3 separate regions of the Homo sapiens genome follow, and regions 1 and 2 are each linked to region 3. The links are contacts of gene promoters, found by promoter capture Hi-C in human tissues and cell types (Jung and others, 2019). All regions are on one chromosome and are shown on one strand. Each heading gives the region's core, a stretch centred on a gene start or on the middle of the fragment in contact. The rest is flanking DNA. Distances are from core to core; before and after follow the strand shown. Region 1 has its middle 16 kb from the start of TRL-TAA1-1. Region 2 overlaps ZC2HC1B (zinc finger C2HC-type containing 1B). Region 3 holds the start of SF3B5 (splicing factor 3b subunit 5).

What was found. The method cuts DNA at HindIII sites, captures the fragments that hold promoters and counts their contacts. A contact is called where the count stands out against the background at its distance.
Region 1: a fragment that was not itself captured here is called in contact with the fragment with the promoter of SF3B5 in region 3 in 2 of the 25 tissues and cell types used here (mesendoderm cells and spleen).
Region 2: a fragment that was not itself captured here is called in contact with the fragment with the promoter of SF3B5 in region 3 in 1 of the 25 tissues and cell types used here (thymus).

What each region holds. Positions count from the first base shown.
Region 1 is chr6:144,230,788-144,234,878 of GRCh38, forward strand. No RefSeq gene overlaps it. Among named protein-coding and RNA genes, the nearest start is that of TRL-TAA1-1, 16 kb to the left of the region's middle. The HindIII fragment of the contact is 8,996 bases long and covers 1-4,091 here.
Region 2 is chr6:143,932,969-143,936,545 of GRCh38, forward strand. All of the region lies in intron 6 of ZC2HC1B (zinc finger C2HC-type containing 1B), which reads left to right. Among named protein-coding and RNA genes, the nearest start is that of ZC2HC1B, 70 kb to the left of the region's middle. The HindIII fragment of the contact is 3,034 bases long and covers 658-3,577 here.
Region 3 is chr6:144,093,641-144,097,472 of GRCh38, forward strand. It overlaps SF3B5 (splicing factor 3b subunit 5), which reads right to left and starts at 1,933. Exons shown (of 1, transcript NM_031287.3): 1 at 1,244-1,933. The coding sequence starts at 1,857. The coding sequence ends at 1,597. RefSeq lists an enhancer at 1,683-2,382. The HindIII fragment of the contact is 26,090 bases long and covers 1-3,832 here.

The sequences.
Region 1 (4,091 bases), core at 203-2,702, 140 kb after region 3:
TTATTATCATGAGAACAGCACCAAAACGGACGCCCGCCCCCATGATCCAATCACCTCCCACGAGGCCCAACCACCAACATTGGGGATTACAACTAGACATGAGATTTGGGTGGGGACACAGACCCAAACCATATCAATCAGCTTAGAAGAAAATGTATCTAATTGAAAATACAGCCAATAATATGAACATTATGGTGCCAAGCAGAGCAGACAACAGCTTGTATGTATATTTATTTTTAAGTTTCTTTAGAACATTGAAGGAGCAAAAGAGTTTCTAAAACTGAAGGCTCTGGATCCCTCATTCTCTGCTTCTCCAAAGATCCTCAAATGTATGAGATTAAAACTCGAGAGAGTAATAAGATGGGAGTCATCAATATATAGGTGGCAAAGGAAGCAAAGGCCTGAATACAATTATGCAAGAAGAGAGGATGGTGAGAAGAGGGTCTCTGAGAGTACTACAGAAAGTGCATTTATTTTTGAGATGGAGTCTCACTCTGTCGCTCAGGCTGGAGTGCAGTGGCATCGTGATCTCAGCTTACTGCAATCTCCACCTCCCAGGTTCAGGCGATTCTCGTGCCTCAGCCTCCCAAGTAGTTGGTATTACAGGCATGTGCCACCATGCCCGGCTAATTTTTGTATTTTTAGTAGAGACAGGGTTTCACCATGTTGACCAGGCTGGTCTTGAACTCCTAATCTCAAGTGATCTGCCCACCTCTGCCTCCCAAAATGCTGGGATTACAGGCGTAAGCCACCTTGCCAGGCCAAGAAAGCTCACATTTAAGTGATATTAGATATATCCTTGGATATATCTCTGCACACAAACTAATTTGGCTGGCTTTTGTTTGCATTCCTTGGCAAAGTCAGTTGTAAAGTCAGTTGTTTGATTAGACTTTCCAAGTCCTTTGAAGTAAATTAATACTTGTGTGCAAGCCCAATCTATGTTAGAGAAAAGCAAAACTAGGAAAGCAGCATTTTTTGGAAGGGAAAACCTTCTTTATGTCAGGCTCCACAGTCCTGCCAAAGTCCTTCTTTAGGCGCATCTGGGAAAAGGAAGGGAATCACTAACTCCAATCTTAACCCTGGCTTGAATCTTCACATTGGCCTTGACCCGGGAAGGTATTATCATCTAAGCCACTTTTTCATTTTATCTAGAATTTGTCACTGACACATGAAGAGAGGCTGGAAAATGGGAAGGAATAAAGTTCCTGAGAAACTGACCTGCCGTTTTGGAGCTAGAATCAGAATGGAAATTTGGAACTTGGAAGACTTTCTGTTTTTTTTTCCCTCTGTTTGTATTTTCTATAATTATTTCCTTTTTGTGAATACATGGTATTGTGTAAAGTTCTCTATTCATGTAAAGACAGTTTCTTCTATTTATTTCTGTTTCTCAGTGCCTGGCATTATTGCTTGCTAAATATATTTCACCATTTACTCCAGGCTGAAGCATTGACACCATTTTGTGGCTTCCCCACATCCAACTCCAAGCTGCACTTTTCACAGATAAATCACTGTAATTAATCACGCTCTTGAAAAGGAACAGGAGGTGTAAAAGCCTAACTAATGTGCACCTTTAGCCCACTCCAATGACGCTTTGGAAACCGACTGCTGGAACCCTTAACTTTGGCTCTGTATTTCCAGATCCTCTAGCAGTATGAGATCATTGAGATTGTGGAATGAGCTGGGAAATTTTATTTTTCAAAAGCAACCAACCATACCTGTATATTTGTAAGGATTTTTATGGAGTCCTGCAATGTCAATCCTTAGGCTTGGCTAGTTCATCAACAAACTCAGAAACAAACTGAAAACTAGAGGCTTGGAATTCAGACAGAACTTTCAAAGCCAGGGCTAGAGATGTTTGTATTAGGTTGCTTTGGTTTATTTTTAGAAGGCAACTGTTTTCTCACGAGCAATTTTCTTAGGTAGCTTAAAATACAATCATAGCCACAAATTTGAATCCTCTTTCCTTGAAAAAAGGGGGGAAAAAGAAAAGGAAGATTGCTAAAAATTATTTCCTATTCTAGTATGAGGTAGAAAGAGCTTTCTAATTTTTTTTTTTCCTCAGGTAGATGAACAAAAAATGCCCCACATAAGTACCTTGAATTGACTTTGTAAGGATAAAGGCAATCACTGTTTATGCTTAGGAAATGTATCGCATTGGGACCTTAATGTTGAGTACAACCTCTTACTCCACCATAGTTGCCAAGTTTTGCTAAATTTTTTTTCTGCTGCAAAAGTTTATTGTTTCATTGCCGGGGAGCACCTCCCAGGCCCTGGGGAAAAAGCCTTGGTTCTCACAAGTGGTTCATATTTTAATCCACTTTATTCCTGCCCTTTCTATTTTAAATGTTTTCAAAATGAAATCTCCAAATTGCATTCTATACAAGGAAATCTTGGTGGAAAATACTAGGGTATAACTCATTCTCACATAAGCAATTGTTTTAGATAATTAAAAAAAATCCTTCTTTCTCACAAGAAGAAGCTGAGAAAACAATTTCAAGAATTCCCACTCACTGAAAGCCAGTTTTCTGAAAGCTAACTTATAGAATAATCTGACATATCAGATTTACATGAATTTACAAAATTTGCTAATAGTGAATTTAATAAGAATGTTAAATTCACTATGGGCTTTCACAAGATGTTCAACTTTTCAAAATTTCAGCATCTCCTATGGGAATCCTTTAGTCCATATTTTCTTCTTAATATAGAAGATCATTTTAGCTAAATTCTGATTTACTTTTAGATGGTCTTAAACTTAAAATCTAAAGCTGATAGAACTATGAAAATATTCCTGATAGGGCTAATAAATATGTAAGTAAAATTGATAAACCTGATAAGTTGGTCATTTGGCAAATTTGCTTGGTGTAAACTTGATGGGTGGTGACTGAACAAGACTTTGCCCCATTACATGGTGTAGTGTGTACACTGCATAAATCCAGGGGCGCCATTTACACAGAGTATAATATGAATAGAGCCCCCTGGAGTTGTGCAACACAGAGGCCCTAGACTTAACTTGGATCATAAGATGTCTGGCCCCAGCCAAGTGGCATGTTGTGAGCTCTATTAACTAAACTAACAATTCCAATTTAATTTGAAGGAGCACACAGATCTTAGGAGTTCATACAAAGAGGATGAAGGAGAGTCAGCAGCACAGCTTATAGGGTATGTGCTACAGACTGAATGTTTGTGTACCCACCCTAATTCATATGTTAAATCCTAATACCCAATGTGATATTTGGAGATGAGGCCTTTGGGATGTGATTAGGTCATGAGGGTGTAGTCCTCATAAATGGGATTAATACCTTTATAAAAGAGGTCCCGGAGAGCTCCGTTGCCCTTTCTACTGTTTAAGGATCCAGCAAGAAGACAGCTATCTATGAATTAAGAAGTAGGTCCTCACCAGACACAAAATCTGCTGGTGCCTGTATCTTGAGTTTCCCAGCCTCCAGAACTGTGAGAAATAAATGTCTGCTGTTTATAAGCCATGCAATTTACAGTATTTTAAAACAGCAGCCTGAATGGAACAAAGCAGTATGTTAGAATCATCTGGGGGTTTTAAAGATCTTCATATTCAGGTCGTTCCCCAGACCAATTAAATGAGACTCTTCTGGTGGGGTCCAGGCGTGAACATTTTAAAAAACCTTCTTAAGTGATTGCAATATGCAACTGTTCTATAAGAAAGGATTTGGCTGGCATTTGTCTCCAGTTCCTGAGAGGGAGATTTTAAAATGCTTAGAATTCCCTCCAGTGATAGTAGTGTCTTTGTTATTCATGGCGGCCCCTTGGACCACACCTGAGTTTACTCTAAGGCAATCACTCAGAATGGGAACTAGGCATGCTGGGAAGACCGGTCATGTGACTAGAGGGTTGGGTCTTTGAATAACAGTGATATTAGCCTGACCTCCAGGGTGGGGAAGGGGGCTGGAGACTTCAATCATGTGGCCAATGATTCAATCAATCATGTCTACATAATGAGACCTCAATTAAAACTCTGGGCACTAAGGCTTGGGGGAGCTTCCTGTGCAGGGATAGTGACGTATCCTGACTCCTTGGGGAGATGGCATGGAAGTTCTGCATTTGGGACCCTCCTAGAT
Region 2 (3,577 bases), core at 925-3,424, 160 kb before region 3:
GTCTGCCGAGTCCTGTGATGCAATTTGTCTTCGGGTCTACCAGCCGTGGATACCAGCACCTGTTCTGATGGAGGTGGCAGGGGAGTCAGGTAGACTCTGTGAGAGTCCTTGGTTGTAAATATGTTTACTGTGTTGTCTTTCTTGAATGCTGGTTATGCTAGCAGCGAAGTTGTCATGTGGACAGACTCGGGACCACTGGTTAGCCAGGATGTTTCAGGCAGTGGAATTAGCTGCTGTTTTTTCCTTCATTAGAGCAGGGTTGTTCTGTTATGAGTTGCTATAATGTTCTGAGTTGGTTAACCTTGAGCCAGGAGGTGGTGCTTTTGAGAGTGCGCCAGCCAGCTGCAATAGTAGAGGGGGATATAAGCTTGCTCTAATTTGGCCAGGACAAGTATTCAGGCTTCTCAGGTGATGGATGGGATCATAAAGCTCCCAAGAGTTTATGTCTTTTGTGATTCACTATTGGACCGGGTAGAGAAATACTATCAGGTGCAGGCAGGATTAGGTAGGTTTGAGCTCAGACTCTCCTTGGGTGGGGGTTGCTGTGGCCACTGTGGGGAGATCAGGGGATGGTTCTTGGGCCAATGGAGTTATGTTCCAGAGGGAATTATGGCTGCCTCTGTCACCAGGGAAGTGGGCGAAAGCTGGTAGCAACAGGCCTCACCCAGCTCCCACACAGTTGGCAAGGCCAGTCTCACTCCCACCGTGCCCTGCTAACCGTGCCAAGTTTATCTCTAGGCAGCCTGCAGCCTGGGACTCAGATCTAGTCCCAGGCTCTAAGTTTCCCCACTGAGGAAGCAAGCACTGCTTTCAGGCCACACCTTTGCCAATCTGCCACACTGTCAGCCGCATCTCCACTGTGCTTTCTGCAACAGTTCCTGTTTGCCCCCAGATTCTTCTCAAGAGGGTTTGCACCCAGTCAAAATTATTACAAAGTTCAGTTGGAAGCTTCTTTCACCCTGTGACCCCTCTCAAATTCTGCCAGTTGCCTTCCCCGAGGGCTCTTGTGAGATAGAGTCAGGGATGGCTTCCCTGGGCTTGAGCTGGAGAATGGGACTGCCTACAAGGCTTGTCCCACTGCTGCTTCTACTTTTACATTTCACAGCAAATCAATTTCAGCTCTAGGTAAGGCTAAATTCTTCTCCCGTAATCTGGATTTTTCAGGTTCCTCAGTGGGGACGTGTGCTTGGAAGCAGATGTGTCCCCTCTCAGACTTTGGGAACTTACGAATTTTCACCTGTCTTGCAGAATTTGCAATAGCCTGCCACTTCTTTCAAAGGATCTGTGATTTCTTTTGTTTTTCCTGGTATGCTCCTGCAGTTGTTCCTGGAGCAAACGACCACAGAGTGAGTGTCCACACGCTGTTCTGTCCATCCAAGTGGGAGCTACTTATCAGCCCTGTCCCCTATCTGCCATCTTCCCTCTCTTTCAATATGCTTTTTTAATATTATGATTTTGAATTCCTTTTCTGGCATTTCATCAATTTTTTTGTTGCAATCTGTTGCTGGAGAATTGTATTCCTTTGGAGGAGTCATATTTTCTTGCATTTTTATGTTTCTTGTGTTCCTATGCCAATATCTCTGCATCTGGTGTAACAGTCACTTCTTCCAATTTTTGAATTGGCCTTCATAGGAAAGACTTCTTCCTACATATGTATCTATAGTGATAGTTGGGTAGGGCACTTTAGCTTTGATACTGGAGCATACAGTAATTGCGTGTCCATGATTTTTTGGCTGTAATTACTATCAGTGGTGTCTATGAATTCCTTAGTGACTTAAACTGCAGTTGTTATTGGAAGCTGTGGTGAGGCTTTGCTGGGGATGGGGACACAAGGTGAGCTGGTCTTCAGGCCTCAGTGGTGGCAGCAGTAGACTGAGCCTGCCTGTCCTTGGGACCCCAGGTAGCATACGTGGGCACTGGTGTTAGCAGGTCCAGGCAGACCAATCTTTGGACCTCCAGATGGCTTGCTCAGGTGCCAGCAGTGGCGATGGTGGGTGGCTCTTCAGGTTCCTGGGTGGCATGCATGGGGTTGCCAATAACATTGATGGTGGTAGACCAACCCTCTGGCTCCTAGGCAGTATCCATAGGGTACTAGTGGTGGCAGTAGTGAGCTGGGCGGCCCCATCCTTAGTCCCCTAGGAGGAGTATGTGGACGCTGCAGATGCTGGTGGTGGTGGGTCAATCTCCAAGTCCATGGATGATGTATGCAGGTACCAATAGGCTGAGCAGACTCACCCTCAGGCACCTGGTAGGGGTGGGTAGAAGCTGACCACAGGCAGGGTGAGCTGACCACAGGCAGGGTGGGTTGATCCCCAGGCCCCAACAATGCACAGAAGCACTGGTGGGCATGACACCACATGGGTCAAGCCTGTCATCAGCTTCCCAATGGTGGGCACAAGCACAGGCTGTGATGGTCAGGGCTGCTCAATCTCCAGGCTCCCAGTCAGTGTCCATTGGTGCCAGCAGGGTGGGTGGCCCTGTCCTCAGGCCCAGTGAGGGTTTGCATGGGTTTCTGTGGCAGGGGTCAGGGCAGCTCATAAGGGTCTTTTTTTTTCTTTTCATTATACAATGCTATATAAAAATAAAGGTCTTTAAAAATTGTTGTTGTTGGGTTTTTTGTTATTGCTATTAATATATTCAGATTGACAATCAGTAGTTTAGGCCACTTGGTATCACTCTTTTTTTTTTTTTTTTTTTTTTTTTTTTGAGACAGGATCTCTCTGTCGCCCAGGCTATAGTGCAGTAGCTTGATCAAAGCTCTCTACAGCCTTGACTTCCTGGGTACAAGTGACCCTCTCACCTCAGCCTCCTGAGTATATGGGATGACAGGCATGTACCACCATACCCAGATAATTTTTTTTATTTGTAGAGGTGAGGTATTATGTTTCCCAGACTGGTCTTGAACTCCTAGGCTCAAGCAATCCTCCTGCCTTGGCCTCTCAAAGTATTGGCATTACAGGTGTGAGCCACTGCCCCTGTCTTCTTTTTTAAGTAATATCTACTTATGGTATCATATATTATAAATCTAGTTGTTGTCTTTCATCTAGATAGCAGTTAGCCTCCTAAAACTCGGGCTTTCATCCTTCAACTCTCTTGAGTAAAATAAGCATTTAGTATCTTGTACCTCCCACATATAACAGTTTTAAAATTCATACCAGAGGAGACACATGTGTGTACAAGTCAACAGCCTTATTGATCCCAGAGTCTTATGAGAAGACATAGCATGCACAGGAAAACTTCTAATACAAAAAGAGCACCTGGTATTAAGTGAAGTTACCATGCCAGTTAAGCAACTGGCGTATGAACTCATTTAATTCTCACAATAGCGTGAGGAGGTCGATGTACTATTCATATCTCTATTTTACAGATGAGGAAAGCACAGAGAGGTTAAGCAACATGGGCAAGCTATTTAATAGGAAGGAGCAGAGCTTTGTACGTTTTGGGAAAAATGGGTCCAAAAATATAAATATTAAGGCTATTGATACATATTTGGAAATTATTTTAGAAAAAGAAGTGGCTCTTCTCGCATTCCTAAAAGATTCTAATGTTCAGATGGGGAATGAGTGTATAGCCTAGT
Region 3 (3,832 bases), core at 683-3,182:
CCCGGGAAACATGAGACCCTCATCTCTACAAAAAAACTAAGAAATGCAAAAATTAGCCGGGCATGGTGGCACGTACCTGTAGTACCAACTACTTGGGAGGCTGAGGTGGGAGGATTGCTTGAGCCTTGGAAGTTGAGGCTGCAGTGGGCCATGATCGTGCCACTGCACTCCAGCCTGGAGTTCCAAAGCCACCACTGAGCTAAGCTATGCCAGGTCACGTGACTTCTCTGCGTAAAAACCTTCCAATGGTCTGCAGTGGTGGCTCACACCTGTAATCGTAGCACTTTGGGAAGCTGAAGTGGGAGGACTGCTTGAGGCCAAGAGTTCAAGACCAACCTGGCCAACATATCAAGATCCATCTCGTGTTTTTAAAAACTAAAATTAAAAAAAACCACAACCTTCCAATGGCTCCTCAGAGGTTCATATATTGTCCTACAAGACTCTACTCTGTTTTCCCCTCCATTACCTGTCCCTCTACTTTTCCCCTTACTCACTCCCTCCAGCCATGCTTGCCTCTTTGAAGTTCCTCCAATAAACCATACATACTCCCAGCGTTAGTACCATTGCACTGGCAGTTCCCTCTTCATGGAAAGCAATTTCTCCAGTTTTCCGCATGGCCATTTCCCTCATTTTCCTGAAGTCTTTGCTCAAATGTCACCATCTCAGTAACTTGTGCATCATATTTAAGATTACAGCCCTACCAGCTACTCCCACCCGCACCACATACATTGTTCTCCCCTCCCCGCAGCATCTTCTAACATTTGCTTATTACATCTAGTGTTTGACCTCCTTTCTCCACCACCAGCATAATGTAAGCCCCAAGAACACGGGAAAATGCCTGTCACATAGAGCTCAACAAATATTTGTTGAATGTAGAATGGATGAACTCGCTTGCCAGCTTGTCATTTCTGGAGACATGGCCACAAATTCCCAAGAAAAAAAAAAGGATGCATTTTAAAGAGGCTAGGGAGGACAATGACAGCAAAGACTGCAAAGAGTTTTAAAACAGGAGAAAAAGAAGATGGGATACAATAACCACAAATTTCAATACTGAAGGCATTGTGGGCCTGAAAATAACGCTCTTGGGAAAAGTGGCAGTCGGGGAATTAATTATAAAGGTAGACACGGCGGATCTAAGTGCCTGGCCATGGACACTGGCATGCGCTCCCTCACCCAAACCCACTTCCCGCTCAGCTCTTTCCGGAGCCTTCCACCCTAACACAGAAAGTTCACACCAAGAGACTGAACGATTTCTAAACTTTATGGAAAAAGCCAATGACAATCAATTAGCCAAAAACGAGACGCCAAATCCCATCTCACTCCAGCGCCATGCCCTCTTCTCAAACGCTCGCCGGCTCTAGGACCTCTCCACCAGCACAGTTCTCAGGAGTCCTGCTGGTCTCCCAGTGCTGTTCTAAGGGTCCACATGAAGGCAGGTCAGGCGGGACTCCCCGGGCAAGCACTTCTGTACGCGGAAAGCACGAGGCGCAGGAGCCATGGAGAGCCGGTCCTTTGGAGACAGGAATACTTAAGAGGATTGGCAAACCGGAGAAACGCTGGGAGAGGTGCCCCGCACTGCGGTGGTAAGGCAGAGTCTCAGTTCTCCTCGGGCTTGTCGGCTGGCGGTCCACAAGGCTGAAGCATCTTTTCCATCAAGTTGAAGCGGACTCGCGCTTTGCTCTCATTCTCCGCAATGGCGAAGTAGTTGAGAAGGTCGAAGTGGCCCATGTAGGAGCAGTACGAGTCGCGGTGTTGGTTCACCAGCCACTCCCACTTGGTGGTGTCGGCGTGGCCCGTGCCGATGTACTTGGACTGCAGGTGCTCCAGCTGGCTATGGATGGTGTAGCGGTCAGTCATCTCGCCGCTTTCCCCTTCGCTCTCAGGTCAGAGGACGCAGGTAACAACTCGCCGCTCTAGCGTTTTACAGGAGAGTGAAGCCACCGCGCGGAAGCTCCAGGTCCGCGCCGTCGCAGAAGAATGGCGTCACAACGACTAAGTAGCGTAACTCTCGCTCATAGGGCTCAGAGGCGGAAGCGGAAGCACATTCTGTCACGCAATTGGAGTTGCTGAGGCGACGCAACAAGTGTGCCTCCCCCCTCCATGGAGATCCCCGCCCCATCAGAGAATGTTGCATGATGGTCCACTTAGTGGCTAAGGGAGGCCCTTTTCCAACAAGGAGCGTTGCATGCTGGGACTTGTGGTCTTGGGAGTTCGTGCACGCAGGCTTCCGGGACTCCTGGTCGCGTTCTGTTGTTTGTTTGTTTGTTTGTTTAAGACGGAGTCTTGCACTGTTGCCCGGGCTGCAATGCAATGGCGCGATCTCGGCTCACTGCAACCTCCGCCTCCTGGGTTCACGCGATTCTCCTGCTTCAGCCTCCCGAGTAGCTGGGATGACAGTTGCACACCACCACGCCCGGCTAGTTTTTTTGTATTTTTAGTAAAGACGGGGTTTCACTGGTCTCGAACCCCTGACCTCGTGATCCGCCCGCCTCGGACTCCCAAAGTGCTGGGATTACAGGCGTGAGCCACCGCGCCCGGCCCCTGGTCGCGTTTTAAAAGTGATCTGGGGACCTAGTGGAGGGCGATGTCTGGAGGTGGGGAGCATCCGTGGGTGGCTTGGGGCTGATAGGAAATGGGAAACCCAAGAATGACTGGACTACGAGCAGCCCCGAAAATAAACTCTTGGTGTATTTCGGAGCCGTCGTGGCGGCACGGCCGTCCCTTCACAACCGGGGATGGATTACCCAGAAGTCAGCAGGCGCCAGTTCTGGTCCCAACTATGTCTCTTAGGAGTTTGTGGCATAAAAGAGTTATTTCAGCTCTAACCAGGGTGCTTGGTGAGCAAGTACAGCACCAGTTCCCACACATTCCGGCTTCCACCTCAAGCTCCTCCTTCCTCTCTAGCCACTTATTTTGATATCCTCCCTCCAAGGCCTCACCTCACCCTACTTGGCTCTTCCATTCAGTGGGTTTTGTGGATTCAACCAACCTGATTGAAAATATTGGGGGAAAATATCAGTCTGTACCGAAATGCAGACTTTTTAAGGTTATTATTCCCTAAACAATACAGTATAACAACTATTTACATAGCATTTACATTGTATTAGGTATGTTAAATAATCTAGAGACAAACTATACAGGAGGATGTGCGTATATGCAAATACAAGCCGTTTTATATCAGGGACTTGAGCATCCTCTAGTTTTGGTATCCATGGGGGTCCTGGAACAAATCACTCACGAATACTGAGGGACAACTGTATTTCTCCATGTTACCTGTTGTGTCCATCCCCATTTCCTTGTACAAGCTATTCCCTCTACGTGGAATGTCTGTTCCCTTGGTGAACGCATCTCCCTTTAAAGGCAGCTCAAATGCATCTCCTTAGAGTTTTCTCTGGCTGCTCCAGACAGATGTAAACTCTCTTTCCTCTTTGCAAGTTATACGTCTCTTCCTTATTATTGCTTTATGTCCTACTGTTTGGTTTAATAACTTCCTTACATGGGTAGAAGCTACTTGAAAAAAAGATCCTTTTTTTAAAAAAAAAAAGTCCAAAACAAAAATTTGATAAATGGATAAATTATTACAACCGAAGAGAAGGAAAACTTTACTGGGAAGGAGATAACTTGAAAATAATTTTATTCTGCTGTTTAAACTTCGTTATAACAAATGTTTCACTCCTAAAATGTAAAGAATTTTGCCAGGCATACTTGTGGGAGATGTATCAAACCTTAACATTTTGCCATTTTTCTATGGAGCCTGTTTTTTTGATTGCTGAAAGTGTGTATCCATGCACAATAGTTGTTTTTGTTATGCAAGTTTTAAAGCTCTATATAA